Regions from separate parts of the Homo sapiens genome. Here all the other regions are linked to region 3. Evidence: promoter capture Hi-C in 16 types of primary human blood cells and fetal thymus (Javierre and others, 2016). All regions are on one chromosome and are shown on one strand. The core of a region is centred on a gene start or on the middle of the fragment in contact, and the rest is flanking DNA. Distances in the headings are between cores, read along the strand shown. Region 1 has its middle 12 kb from the start of LINC01700. Region 2 overlaps LINC02943 (long intergenic non-protein coding RNA 2943). Region 3 holds the start of ETS2 (ETS proto-oncogene 2, transcription factor).

Region 1 (3,874 bases), core at 678-3,177, 160 kb after region 3:
CTCGGCTCACTGCAACCTCTGCCTCCCGGGTTCAAGCGATTCTCCTACCTCAGCCTCCCGAGTAGCAGGGACTACAGGTGTGCACCACCACGCCCAGCTAATTTTTGTATTTTTAGTAGAGACAGGGTTTCACCATGTTGGCCAGGATGATCTCAATCTCTTGACCTCGTGATTTGCCCGCCTCAGCCTCCCAAAGTGCTGGGATTACAGGTGTGAGCCACTGCGCCCAGCCCTGTCACACATTCTTGAGCCAGTGGCTACTACCCCAGCTACTGGTTCCTGATTTTCCTGACAGCAGCAGTGAGCGCAGCTCCGGGCAGCCCACGGGGTGTGATTTGGGGAGCTGCTGTGGAGGCCCAGCCTTCTGAGGGATTCTGAAAGTACCTAATACCCTGCATTAAATCCTGTTCTGCTCAACTTAACCAGAAGGACAGCCTTTCCTGCAGGTGGACACTGGCAGCCTCACGTTTAGAAACAGATGCTGCTTTCCTCACGGACACCATCCACTCTTACACCACCCTCACTCTCACTGAGCTGTTTTCTATTGCACTCACAGGTATTTAAATGTGCTGCGTTTACTCGTTTGTTTGTGTACTTATTGCCTGAATTGTGACCTCCATGGAAACATCGACCTTGTCACTGGGCCTCTCTTCCGACATCCTCATGCCTAGAACAGCGCTTGGTGCAGTGGCCGCTTTGGGGTATTTATGGAAGAAGAGAGAGAGAAAAGGAATTTCTAAGTTTGGCTTCTCCTTGAAGAAGCTTCCAAAGGCGTTTCTAGAACACTTAAAATATGTGAAAATAAGGGCTACCTAGGTTATATGTTAAATGAATTATGCTAAAGAAGACTCAGCAGTTGCTAACTTTTCTCATCTGCTCTTAAATATCCCATTCTGCTGTTTCAAATTAGAAACTCAGAGTTCCAAAACAGTGAGATCGTTTACTTCTTTTTCTAAAAAAAAAAAAAAAAAAAAAAAAGGCATTGGAATAACGGAAGTACTTTAAGAATCTATGGGGCAAGAATAGAAGCTAGTCATCGTTGTCTGTATAAACCAAAAATAAAATTCTAATGCCCCTCAGCTATCTGAACGGATCCCCCCTCTCGGCCAAGGGCCTTCCAGAGTTAACCTGAAAATCTAGTTCAGGCCAGGACGGGAAGTGGGGGTCAGACATGCCTCATCACCCCAACATCAACACAGACCTTCAGTCTGACAAGAAACATGTACAATATCTTGTTTCTGAAGCCTGCTACCTCGAGGCTTCCTCTGCATGATGAAACCTTGGTCTCCACAACCTTTCATCGTAACTCAGACATTCCTTTCTATTGATAGTAACTCTTTCAACCAATTGCCAATTGGAAAATGTTTACACGTGCTTATGACCTGGAAGTCACCCTGCCCCCGCCACCAACTTCGAGTTGTCCCACCCTTTCAGACAGGACCAACGTACATCTCGCAAATATTGATTGATGTCTCATGTCTCCCTGCAATGTATGGAAGCAAGCTGTGCCCCACCATCTTGGGCACATGTCCTCAGGACCTCCTGAGGCTGTGTCACGGGCGCATTCTTAACCTTGGCAAAATAAAACTTTCTAAATAGATTGAGACATGTCCCCGATACTTTTGGGTTCACGTCTGTCACTGAGATGGTAACTGTGGTCATTTGAATACCCCCTCACATTATCCTCATCTCGTCACAGCAGCCCTATTCATCTGGCAAATTGAGGGGGATCACTTGGAATATTATGTTTTTATTAAAAATACGATTTTGGTTTTCTAAGAGATGCTCTGGGCTGCTCTAAACCAGGGACTGCAGGGCCCACCTGTTTCTGCAAATGAGGTTTCATTGGCACTCAGCCAGGTCCATTTATTTACACATTGCCTAGGCTCCTTTCTAGAGCTGAGTTGTTGCGTCAGGGACCACATGGCCTTCAGAGCCTAAAATATTTACTCTCTGGCCCCTTAAGAAAATGTTTGTCAGCTCCTACTCTAAACAAAACCCCTGGCCACATGGCCTCTGGCGCTGCGTTAAGGTCTTTGCTGTGCCCTTTGCGGACACGGACACGCTAGGGATGAACTGACTCAGAGCCGGCCAGTTTCAGGCTCCTTCCTGGAGCGATAGGAACCTGTAATTCTCAGCCCATGTGACCAGTACTGGCCAATGAAATGCAAGCGGAACTGACCTGCGCCTCCAGGCTGAGGCAGTGAAACGCTCCTGAGCCTTTCCCCAGTCTCACTCTTCTCCCCTATGGCAACCAGCAAACTTCCAGAGAGCGGAGGCAGGGGCCCTGCACGGGGTAGAGCGCAGACTCCGCCACTGCCTACCTATGATGGGCTTGCAGTGAGCAAGAAATCAGCTGTTGCATATTATGGCACTGAGATTTTTAGGGTTGTTTGTTACAGCACGATAAGCCTAGCTCATTCTGACTAGGATGGTGGTCTTTTTGCTGTCATAATTAATTTCCATTTCTCAGGGTTTAAAAGGGTGCACTGCCCCCCCCCCCCCCCCCCGCAGATCTCAGGTGGGCATTTTTGAACTTAACTAGATAACAAAACACAGCTAAGACAAGTCCTTTTCTCCAGCAAAGATGGCAATGCTCTAATAACTCTGAGCATATTAAAGATTCTCCAAGACTCTAGCCTCTGCTGCAAAAACACATACAAATACCTACTACTACTGCTGCTGTGATGATGATGATGACAGCAATAGTGAGAATATTTTAAATATGCCAGGCACGGTGGCAACTGCTTTCCAAATATTATCATATTTAATCTGATCATTGCCCTATGAGGTAGGAAGTATTCTGATTCCCATTTTATAAATAAGGAACCCGAGGCTTAGAGAGCATCAGTGACTTGTTCAAGGTCACCCACAGCTGTCAAGTGACAGAACTTCGATAAAAATCCAGACTCCTTTAATGGAGTATGGAGGGAGGTCAGAAAACATAGGAAGTAAGGGATTGTGATTGACAATGCGTCCTTGCAAAGGGACAGGTTAAGAGACACAAGGGCAGCTGTCTGAGGTGTGCCATTCACCAGCTTCAGGAGAGAAGTGGCAGGCTACCTCCAGCTATCCAGCCCTATCCAGCCAAGGAAGCTTGGGAGACATGTTAGTTCCCGCCTTCATTTCCATCAGCAACCTCAAAGCCACCCCTTGATATGATGAAAATAACATTGTTTGATAAAGAGTTGATATTCTCAATCTTATGAAAATGTGGATTAAAGCATCTTACTGATTTATTTAATCTGAAACAAAACAGCTGTTAAAGTGAACTAAATATGGTCTGAGAAGGACTCCGTACTTCTTTTTTTTTTTTTTTTTTTTTTTTTTTTTTGTAGATGGAGACTTGCCCTGTTGCCCAGACTGGAATCCAGTGGCACAATCTCGGCTCACTGCAGCCTCCACCTCCCAGGTTCCAGTGATTCCACTGCCTCAGCCTCCCGGGTAGCTGGGATTACAGGCACACACCACCACGCCCAGCTAATTTTTGTATTTGTAGTAGAGATAGGGTTTCACAAGTTGGCCAAGCTGGTCTCGAACTCCTGACCTCAGGTGATCCAGCCACCTTGGCCTCCCAAAGTGCTAGGATTACAGGCGTGAGCCACTGCGCCCAGCCAGGGCTCCATACTTCTATATTTGAGTCCTTGTGGATGAACTGCAACCTAGCTTAATAGGTAGACAAGATTGAAAACCTAACTTAGGAGTATGCGCCCGGAACAATAGCTGAGTCTTGGCCAAGCCCAGCGGCCGTACTTCAACCACTCATATGCTGCTGAGTCTTTAAGCTGTGTTCAAATAAGGCAAACACCATACTGCAACCAATCCAGCCATCCTGTACCTCACTTCCAATTTCTGTACATCATTTCCCTTTCTT
Region 2 (3,884 bases), core at 459-2,958, 220 kb after region 3:
TCTGCAGGCTGTACAGGAAGTGTGATGCCAGCATCTGCTCAGCTTCTGGGGAGGCCTCTGGGAGCTCTCACTCATGGTGGAAAGCAAGGGGGTGGGGTACACACATCACACTCGAGAGCAGGAGCATGAGAGAAAACGGGAGGTCCCAGACACTTTTGAACAACCAGATCTCACGTGAAATGAGTGAGAACTCGCTCATCACCAAGGGAATGGTGCTAAGTCATTCATGAGGATCCACCGCCATGACCCAACACCTCCCACCAGGCCCCACCTCCAACATCTGGGATCGAATTTCAGCATGAGATTTGGAAGGGGCGAACATCCAAACAGTAGCAATGTCCTAAGGATGCAACCCCCCCACCCCCCGGAGAACTCTACGGCATTCTAATGAAACGGTTCGCCCTTCATGTTATTACAGAGCAAGGCTGCATTTCCATCATTGTCCTTTTAAATGCTTAAGTGAGCCCAGTTACCAATCAATACTACTGACAACAGGAAGAGGAAAAGAAGGAAGAATCAGCGATACAAAGAGCACAAAGTCAAAATGAGTCCAACCACTGGACATGGGTGTCACTGGCAGAAACTTCCAGAAGCTTGGTTCAACATTACCTGCCACAGGCTCAACCTTAAGGCTTTGAGCTGATACAAGAACTCCAAGAATTGTTTCCTGGCACAATTTCACTCATTTGCCAAGTTCTACAGCGTGGGAACCTGCAAAGCCTCCCCATCTCATCACCACTACGTGACCCATTCGTTCCACACTGGCCTACGGGGCGTCCATCCAGGGAGGCGTGTAGCTGTGGCCAGGATGCAGCAGAGGACATCTCGGAGTCCCTGCCCTCATGGGCTCCTGGGACTGTGAAGGGGACAGTCAACAAACAGAAGAGTGCTGGGAGTGTCAAGAGGTGATGATCGCCCAGAGGAAAAGACAAGGTGAGAGGGGAGCCCAGCCCAGGGTCGAGTTCTCGGGGGCGGGACGTTTGCACAAAGATGCTGTGAAGTGTGGGGGGAGCAAGCATTCCTGTACTCAGGGGACAGAATGTCTCATCCAAAAAGGACCAGCAGGTGCTTCCAGGAACATCAAGAAGCAGGTGTGTCTGGGGCAGAGCAAGTGAGCAAGAGACAGGAGGAAAGAGGCCAGAGGGAGGCTGGGGCCAGAACAGTCAGGGCCTGGAAGCAAAGGTCCAGACTCCAGATTTTATTCTTCGTGAGAAGGGGGCCGCTGCAGGGCTTTGAGAAGGCAGTGTCACTTTTTTTTTTTTTTAAATAGAGTCTTGCTCTGTCACCCAGGCTGGAGTGCAGTGGCATGATCTCAGCTCACTGCAACCTCTGACTCCTGGGTTCAAGTGATTCCCCTGCGTCAGACTCCCAAGTAGCTAGGACCACAGCTACATGCCACCACGCCCAGCTTATTTTTGTATTTTTAGAGACGGGGTTTCACTATGTTGGCCAGGCTGGTTTCAAACTCCTGACTTCAGGTGATCCTCCAGCCTTGGCTTCCCAAAGGGCTGGGATTACATGTGTGAGCAACCGAAACCAACCAGCAGTGTCACCTTTAAAGGGATATCTCTGGATGCTGTGTAGAGAACAGCTGGGGTATGGTACCCAGAGTGAGGAAGGGGCCAGGGCAATAGCTGTGGGGTTGCTGAGAGGGGGCAGACTCTGGACAATTGTTGAGGGATTTGCACAGAGCATGCCAGGATTCAACAAGCCCAGCATGTCCACCTTTGGAGCCAGGACCCCAGGGGAGCCACAGCAGGGCCAGAGCAGAGGAGAGAGAAGACACACTGGGATCCATCAGCACCTCTGCCTCCATCCATTGATTTTCTGAGACTCACACTAGTTCCTCTTGAGGGGTTGTTATGTAAAATACAGGATGCCCCACTAAATTTGAATTGCAGATCAACAGTGGATAATTTTTTAGGCATAAGTATTTCCCATGCAATACATGGGATATGGTTACACTGAAAATTTGCTATGATTGATCTGCATTCAACTTTAAATAGAAGTTCTGTTATTTTGTTTGTTAAATGGGCCAAGTTCTATCAGAACTCCCCAAAAAAGGAGACTCTGGAAAATGTATTCCCAGCTTGACCAAGACAGAGCTCCTGTCCCCAGGAACTGACAAAAACAACCACTACCAACACTGAGTGCTTACCATGCACCCAGCACTGTGCCCACATGTTCAGCACTTCATCTAATTCCACAGCCCAGAGGATTACATTTTATTACTACTGGTTTGCAGATGAGAAAACTGAGGTTCACAAAGATACGCCAACTTACCAAAATTACACAGGTGGGCATAATAATAGCTAACACTTACACAGCACATGTAAGCTCAGGCATGGATCTAAATGGATCTCACTTAATCCTTTTTCACAGCTCTATGAGACAGGAACTGTTATTGAACCCATTTTACAGATAAGGAAACTAAATCGTATTGGTGTTAAGTGGCCCAGTCAGGATTTGAACCCAGGCAGTGTGGCTGCAGAATCTGTGCTCTTACCTAGCATCTTAAACTACCACTGAACCACTTCTGAGGCCACCTCCCCACTCTTAATGAAACAACATTAATGCACAAGAAACACTCAGAGAGTCCTAGTGGCAGGAATGGGGCAAACTGACAACAGAGGAGATGGAAATCATTGAGGATTGGGGGAACCTAGGGAGGGTTCATGGAGGAGGAGGCAGACAAGTAGGATATCTGAACAGTTGGAAGATGTGGCAAAAGGGAGGCTGACTAAACACCCATGTTAGGAACTATAAATACATGAAGTAAATATCACTGATTACTGAGTTCTTCATATAAGCCAGGTGCTGTACTAAGCTTAGAATTTATCTCCCTCTAGACTGGGTAATACAGTGAGACTCCATCTCTACAAAAAATTGAAAAATTAGCCAGGCATGGTGCTCATGCCTGCAGTCCCAGCTACTCAGGAGGCTGCAGTGAGAGGATCCCTTGAGCCCAGGAGGTTGAGGCTGCAGTGAGCTGTGATTGCACCACTGCTGTCCGGTTTGGGTGACAGAGCAAGGCCTTTGTCTCAAAGAAAAAAAAATACCTCTCTCAGTCCTTGAAGTCATCCCCAAGGCAATATGGTCCCCATCTTGCACACTAGAAAACTGGGATTCAGGGAGGCCAAGCAACTTGCCTGAGGTCACCCCATCAGGAACAGACAGATGCAGGATTGCAACCACCACGGCAACTTCAAAGCCAGTGCACCTGCCATGTTTCCTTCCCTCTTGGCATGCCTGGAAGGACTTCCATCCCTAAAGTCAAAACAGGCACTTGCAGAATGGCTGGATTCAACAAGGTCATCATGGCTTCTGAAAGAAACAGAGCAAGGGGATTTGCTCTGAGAAATACAGCCTCCATCTCAGAACCCTGCAAAGATGCCCTCCCTGGCTGTCTGAGCAGCCTTTGCTGTCAGGCCCTGTTGGCAGAGGAAAAGTGAGCCGCCTGCCCTGGGTCAGGGAGAGCTGCAGCCCCCTCCTTGGGCAGAGATTTCACCCAACAGAGAAAACCTGGGTGGAAAATTGCATCCAGGAAGAATAGAGGAAAGACAAAGGAAATGGCTGCCTTCTCCCCTGGGCACCCGCCCCCACGGCCACCACCTCTGTTGCTCACAACTTTATCCATTCCTTTCCTTGGGAATCCACGGGTGTTCCAAGAGCTCTTTAGTGCAGTGCTTCAGAGCTTTGACTTTAGGGCAAGATTTGGCCACTGTGAGCAATCTGATGACTCCGTTTCTGTTTCTAAAAACCTTCAGGAGGCAAATGCAGAAATAAGTACAAAAAAAGTGAGCAAACCTAGAGAAAACCTGCCAGCCTGGAAGAGAGAATGGATGTGCCTATGGGCAAGGCCATCCATACGCATGATGACCAGG
Region 3 (3,787 bases), core at 406-2,905:
GCTTCGGGAAGTAGCTGAGCTTTGGGGAGCAGCTGTCTATACCCAGCTTCTCAGGGCTGTGCAAGTAGCCTGAGGGAGAAAGACCCTATATTAGCTGAAACTGCAGCCCAGATGAGTCAGTATTTTCTGCTACGGTTTTTTAAAAAAATAGTAACATACTCATGTCTCCATGGTAACTTACTATGGATCTGTATTCCATTTATGGAACTCTTTCTTGACCTATCTGTGTTCTCTAATCTGGGCCTGAATATACACTGAGAAGCCATCAGAATCAATTCAGTCTCCAAGAAATAATCACTTCCCCTATACGTGATTGTTTCAGCCGTATAGATTCTGACTGTGACTCATGCCACGGTGATACCCGGAGACCTTCGGGGACCCAGAAACATTAAGGTGCACCGATATCTCAATTATCCGGATAACTCTAGACCTAGAGTCACCATGGAAACCTAGAACCCTGAGTCACAGAGAAGCTGGGCCATTCCTCTCCCTTCCCGGTGGTGCCGCAGTTCTTGAGATGTGAGCAGCTTTCAGCCCCGTGGCCTCGCCTAAGCTGGGGTTTCCTATTTCATCCACAACTTCAGGAATCTAAACTTTCCTGCAAAATATTGAGCATGTGACCTGAGTCCAAACAGCCATGGACTCAAGCACCTTCTGATAAAAACGGAAACCACAGTGTAGGGGGTGGTTTTGACCAGGGTTTCGGAGTCAGATAAACTCAGGTTTCCACCTTGAATTTCTCATCAATCTGACGTGGCAGGTTATTCATCCTAAGGTTCAGTTCCCACCTGTGTAAAGTGGGAGCCGCAAGTCCTCCGAGAGTGACGATGATGTGCGTGGAGTGCCCAGCCCAGATTGAAGCGCGGCCAAGGCGGGTCGCTATCTGGGCACCGCTCAGCTCCAGAGGGCGCCACTCCCGCGGAGCCTGCGGGATCGGGGCTTCCCGGGAGCAGCGCGATCAGCACCACGACTCGGGGACACAGCCAGGGCCCGGTTTCTACAGGAAGCGCCTCATTTGGAGCCTTTTTGTGATAGAATGATCATTAGTCCTAAGCCCATTCAGAGGTTCAAGAATGGGGTCGGCTCAATTTCAGGGCCTTATTACCCAAGCCCGGCTGCCCTTCGGTGCCACCAGCACCACTGCTCCGTCGCTGCGGAATTCCAAAGGCAGGTTTGGCGTTAGGGCCTTGGCCCCAGAGAGGACGCCGAGCGCTCCACGGAAAGTCTCCGCCCGGCTCCCAGGGCGCACACTCGCGCGCACGTGGGGCCGAGGCCCTGCTCCCGGGGCCTCAGGGCCAGCCGGCGAGGGACCCAGCCGAGTGACAGCAGGAGGCGGAGGGAAGGTTGGGCCGGAAGGTGTCAGCCCCGCCCCGCGCTCCCTCGCCGCCTCCGCCCTCCTCTTCTCTCCCCTCGTGCGTTCCCTCTCCTCTCCCTCCGCTCCCCCAACCCTCCTGCTGCCCCCTTCCCTCTCCTCCCGCTTCTCCCCATCCTGCCTACCTCCCTTCCCCTCCTCTTCTCTCTCCTCCCCTTCCCTCCCCTCTCTCTTCTCTCCTCCCTCGTTTCCTCCCCTCCCCTCCACTCGGCCGTCCCTCCTTCCTCCTCCCTCCTCCCTCCTCCTCCCGCTCCTGAAGAGCGCGCCGCGTGGGGGACGGCCCGGTTACTTCCTCCAGAGACTGACGAGTGCGGTGTCGCTCCAGCTCAGAGCTCCCGGAGCCGCCCGGCCAGCGTCCGGCCTCCCTGATCGTCTCTGGCCGGCGCCCTCGCCCTCGCCCGGCGCGCACCGAGCAGCCGCGGGCGCCGAGCAGCCACCGTCCCGACCAAGCGCCGGCCCTGCCCGCAGCGGCAGGGTAAGAGCTGGGCCCGCAGAGAGCGCCCGGCGCGCGGCTCCAGTCCCATGGAGGGTCACCCGGGGCCTGGGCGGGGGTCGCGGGGGGCACTGACACGCAGATCTCGGGGCGCTGCCGGGGGTGCAGGTGGGGGTGGCGGCTGCTGCGAGGACTCTAGGGGCGCGCGTCTGAGTTCCGCGCCGGCTCGTTTTCCGGTTATGGAGTGGCCTCCGGGGCTGGCGGGGTCGGCCGGGGGGTTCCTGCGTGCTAGGGCCGCTGTCTTCGGGGTCGCCTAGCGGCGGGCGCGGCCAGGGCGCGCTGGCTTGTTTCGCTCGCTTTTGTTTTTAAAAGGAAACGCAGGCCTGGTAGGGGGTCCTGCCCAGTGGATGTCCCGGCGAACATGATTTCGCGAACGGGAGTGGGGGCACAGGAGAGCGTGTCCGAGGTGGCCTGGCGCCCCGGCTTTGAGGGTGACTTCCTGGAGCGGCGCCGGGCCCGGAGGATCTGGGGCGCCCAAGACACCTGAAGGCTGCGGCACCGCGGGAACCTGCGGGGCGCGGGGTGCCATGGTCACCTGCTCGCCGCGTCCAGGGCCCGGGCTGGGGACCCCTCGGTCGTGCGAGGAGAGCGTGGGGAACCTGTCGGAAATGAGATCTGGTTGCGCTGGGCTGCCTTTATTTTCTCGTTCCTACAGCATTTGAATGAAGAGGTAACTGAGTGTTTGCTTGTGTGTGTTTGGGTTGCGTGTGTGTTATCCTATTTTATTTTTTACGGCAGGAGACCTTTTATGTTAGCCTGTACACAATTTCAGGGTAGCCTAAAACAGTAGTTGACGCGCTAGTTATTTAGAAAGTAAAGAAATGAGCAGTCCCCTTTGGAGACAGGAGTAATTTATTTTAATTCGCCAGTAAGAGATTATATTTGTTCCATACAATGGAAGCGCCTGTGCGTTATCTGCCTGCCCACACCACCACCAATCAGAGAGATAAATCTCCACGTTAAGCTTTATTAAAATTCTGAGTAGTAGCGCAGCACAGTAAATGTTAGCACCGACCATCCGCAGGGAAATGCTCAGATACTCATTTCTGGGATTAGTCATTCATCTCTCTAAACTGATCGCTTTCAAAGCGAAAAAAGCAAACTACCTTCAAATGTGTGTTACAAGGTTGTGTTGTTTCTTTTTTTTGTTTGTTTTCAAATTTATCTAAATAATCTTACATAAGTGATTACTTGTTCCAATAAGGGTACTGTTGTCAGGCAAATTCTCCTTGTTTTTAAATGTAACCATTCTCAGCTGTTACATTTCTGCTCTTTATCCTTTTTTTTTTTTTTTTTTGGTTTAAAAGCAGCGATCCATCAGCAACACCAAACTTGAAATTGATTTATGTGGAAAAACTTGGCTTGTCTGCCATCTAACAAGCCCTGTTGAGTAAAATAAGCAAGCTTAAATTTGATTAGTTGTGTGTCTGCCTGAAACCATTTAGTAGAGCACTTTAATTCTGCATGGTTTTTACAAAACTCATTAAAAGCTGGACAACAAAAGAATTCTATTCTGTAGCTAGTAATTACAGCTCTTTATGTGGGAGTGGTAGGCTGCCTTTTCTCCTGGTATTTGTACACAAAAGCTGGGGAGAGCTTTTCCACTGCCTTCCACATTCATTCTCTGTCCATCTCAGAGAAGCTGAAAAACAGAATCAAGTCAGCAAGCAGTCTGCAAGCCTAAGGAAGAAAAAGAGCTGACCCATCCGGCTCTGGATGGATAACTGGCAACACCCAAGATGTCTATGATTTTGGCCTTCTGTTTGAGGCTTGTTTATTTCTTTAATCAGCAGCTACCAGGACTTATTTCATGCAGAGAAATGACATAAAGCTCTAGAGGAAGGAGCATTTCACATTGGAAGGAGTAGTGAGAAGGGCCTGATCTGATAATATCAGGATGGGTGGGAAGGGTCCATTCCTCA

The links. Contacts are between HindIII fragments. The CHiCAGO score rates a contact against its expected background, and 5 or more counts as called.
Region 1: a contact is called between a fragment that was not itself captured here and the fragment with the promoter of ETS2 in region 3, in 7 of 17 cell types (M0 macrophages, megakaryocytes, M1 macrophages and 4 more). The highest score is 12.1, in M0 macrophages.
Region 2: a contact is called between a fragment that was not itself captured here and the fragment with the promoter of ETS2 in region 3, in 11 of 17 cell types (endothelial precursors, M1 macrophages, megakaryocytes and 8 more). The highest score is 19.0, in endothelial precursors.

The regions. Positions count from the first base shown.
Region 1 is chr21:38,964,095-38,967,968 of GRCh38, forward strand. No RefSeq gene overlaps it. Among named protein-coding and RNA genes, the nearest start is that of LINC01700, 12 kb to the right of the region's middle. The HindIII fragment of the contact is 2,334 bases long and covers 761-3,094 here.
Region 2 is chr21:39,025,376-39,029,259 of GRCh38, forward strand. LINC02943 (long intergenic non-protein coding RNA 2943) reads right to left here. Exons shown (of 7, transcript XR_001755055.2): 6 at 3,626-3,761; 7 at 3,149-3,324. Among named protein-coding and RNA genes, the nearest start is that of LINC02940, 8.1 kb to the left of the region's middle. The HindIII fragment of the contact is 2,234 bases long and covers 592-2,825 here.
Region 3 is chr21:38,804,274-38,808,060 of GRCh38, forward strand. It overlaps ETS2 (ETS proto-oncogene 2, transcription factor), which reads left to right and starts at 1,656. Exons shown (of 10, transcript NM_005239.6): 1 at 1,656-1,847. RefSeq lists enhancers at 455-955, 489-628, 809-868, 879-1,038 and silencers at 1,149-1,478, 1,499-1,568, 1,759-2,048, 2,159-2,258, 2,279-2,378. The HindIII fragment of the contact is 4,522 bases long and covers 1-2,827 here.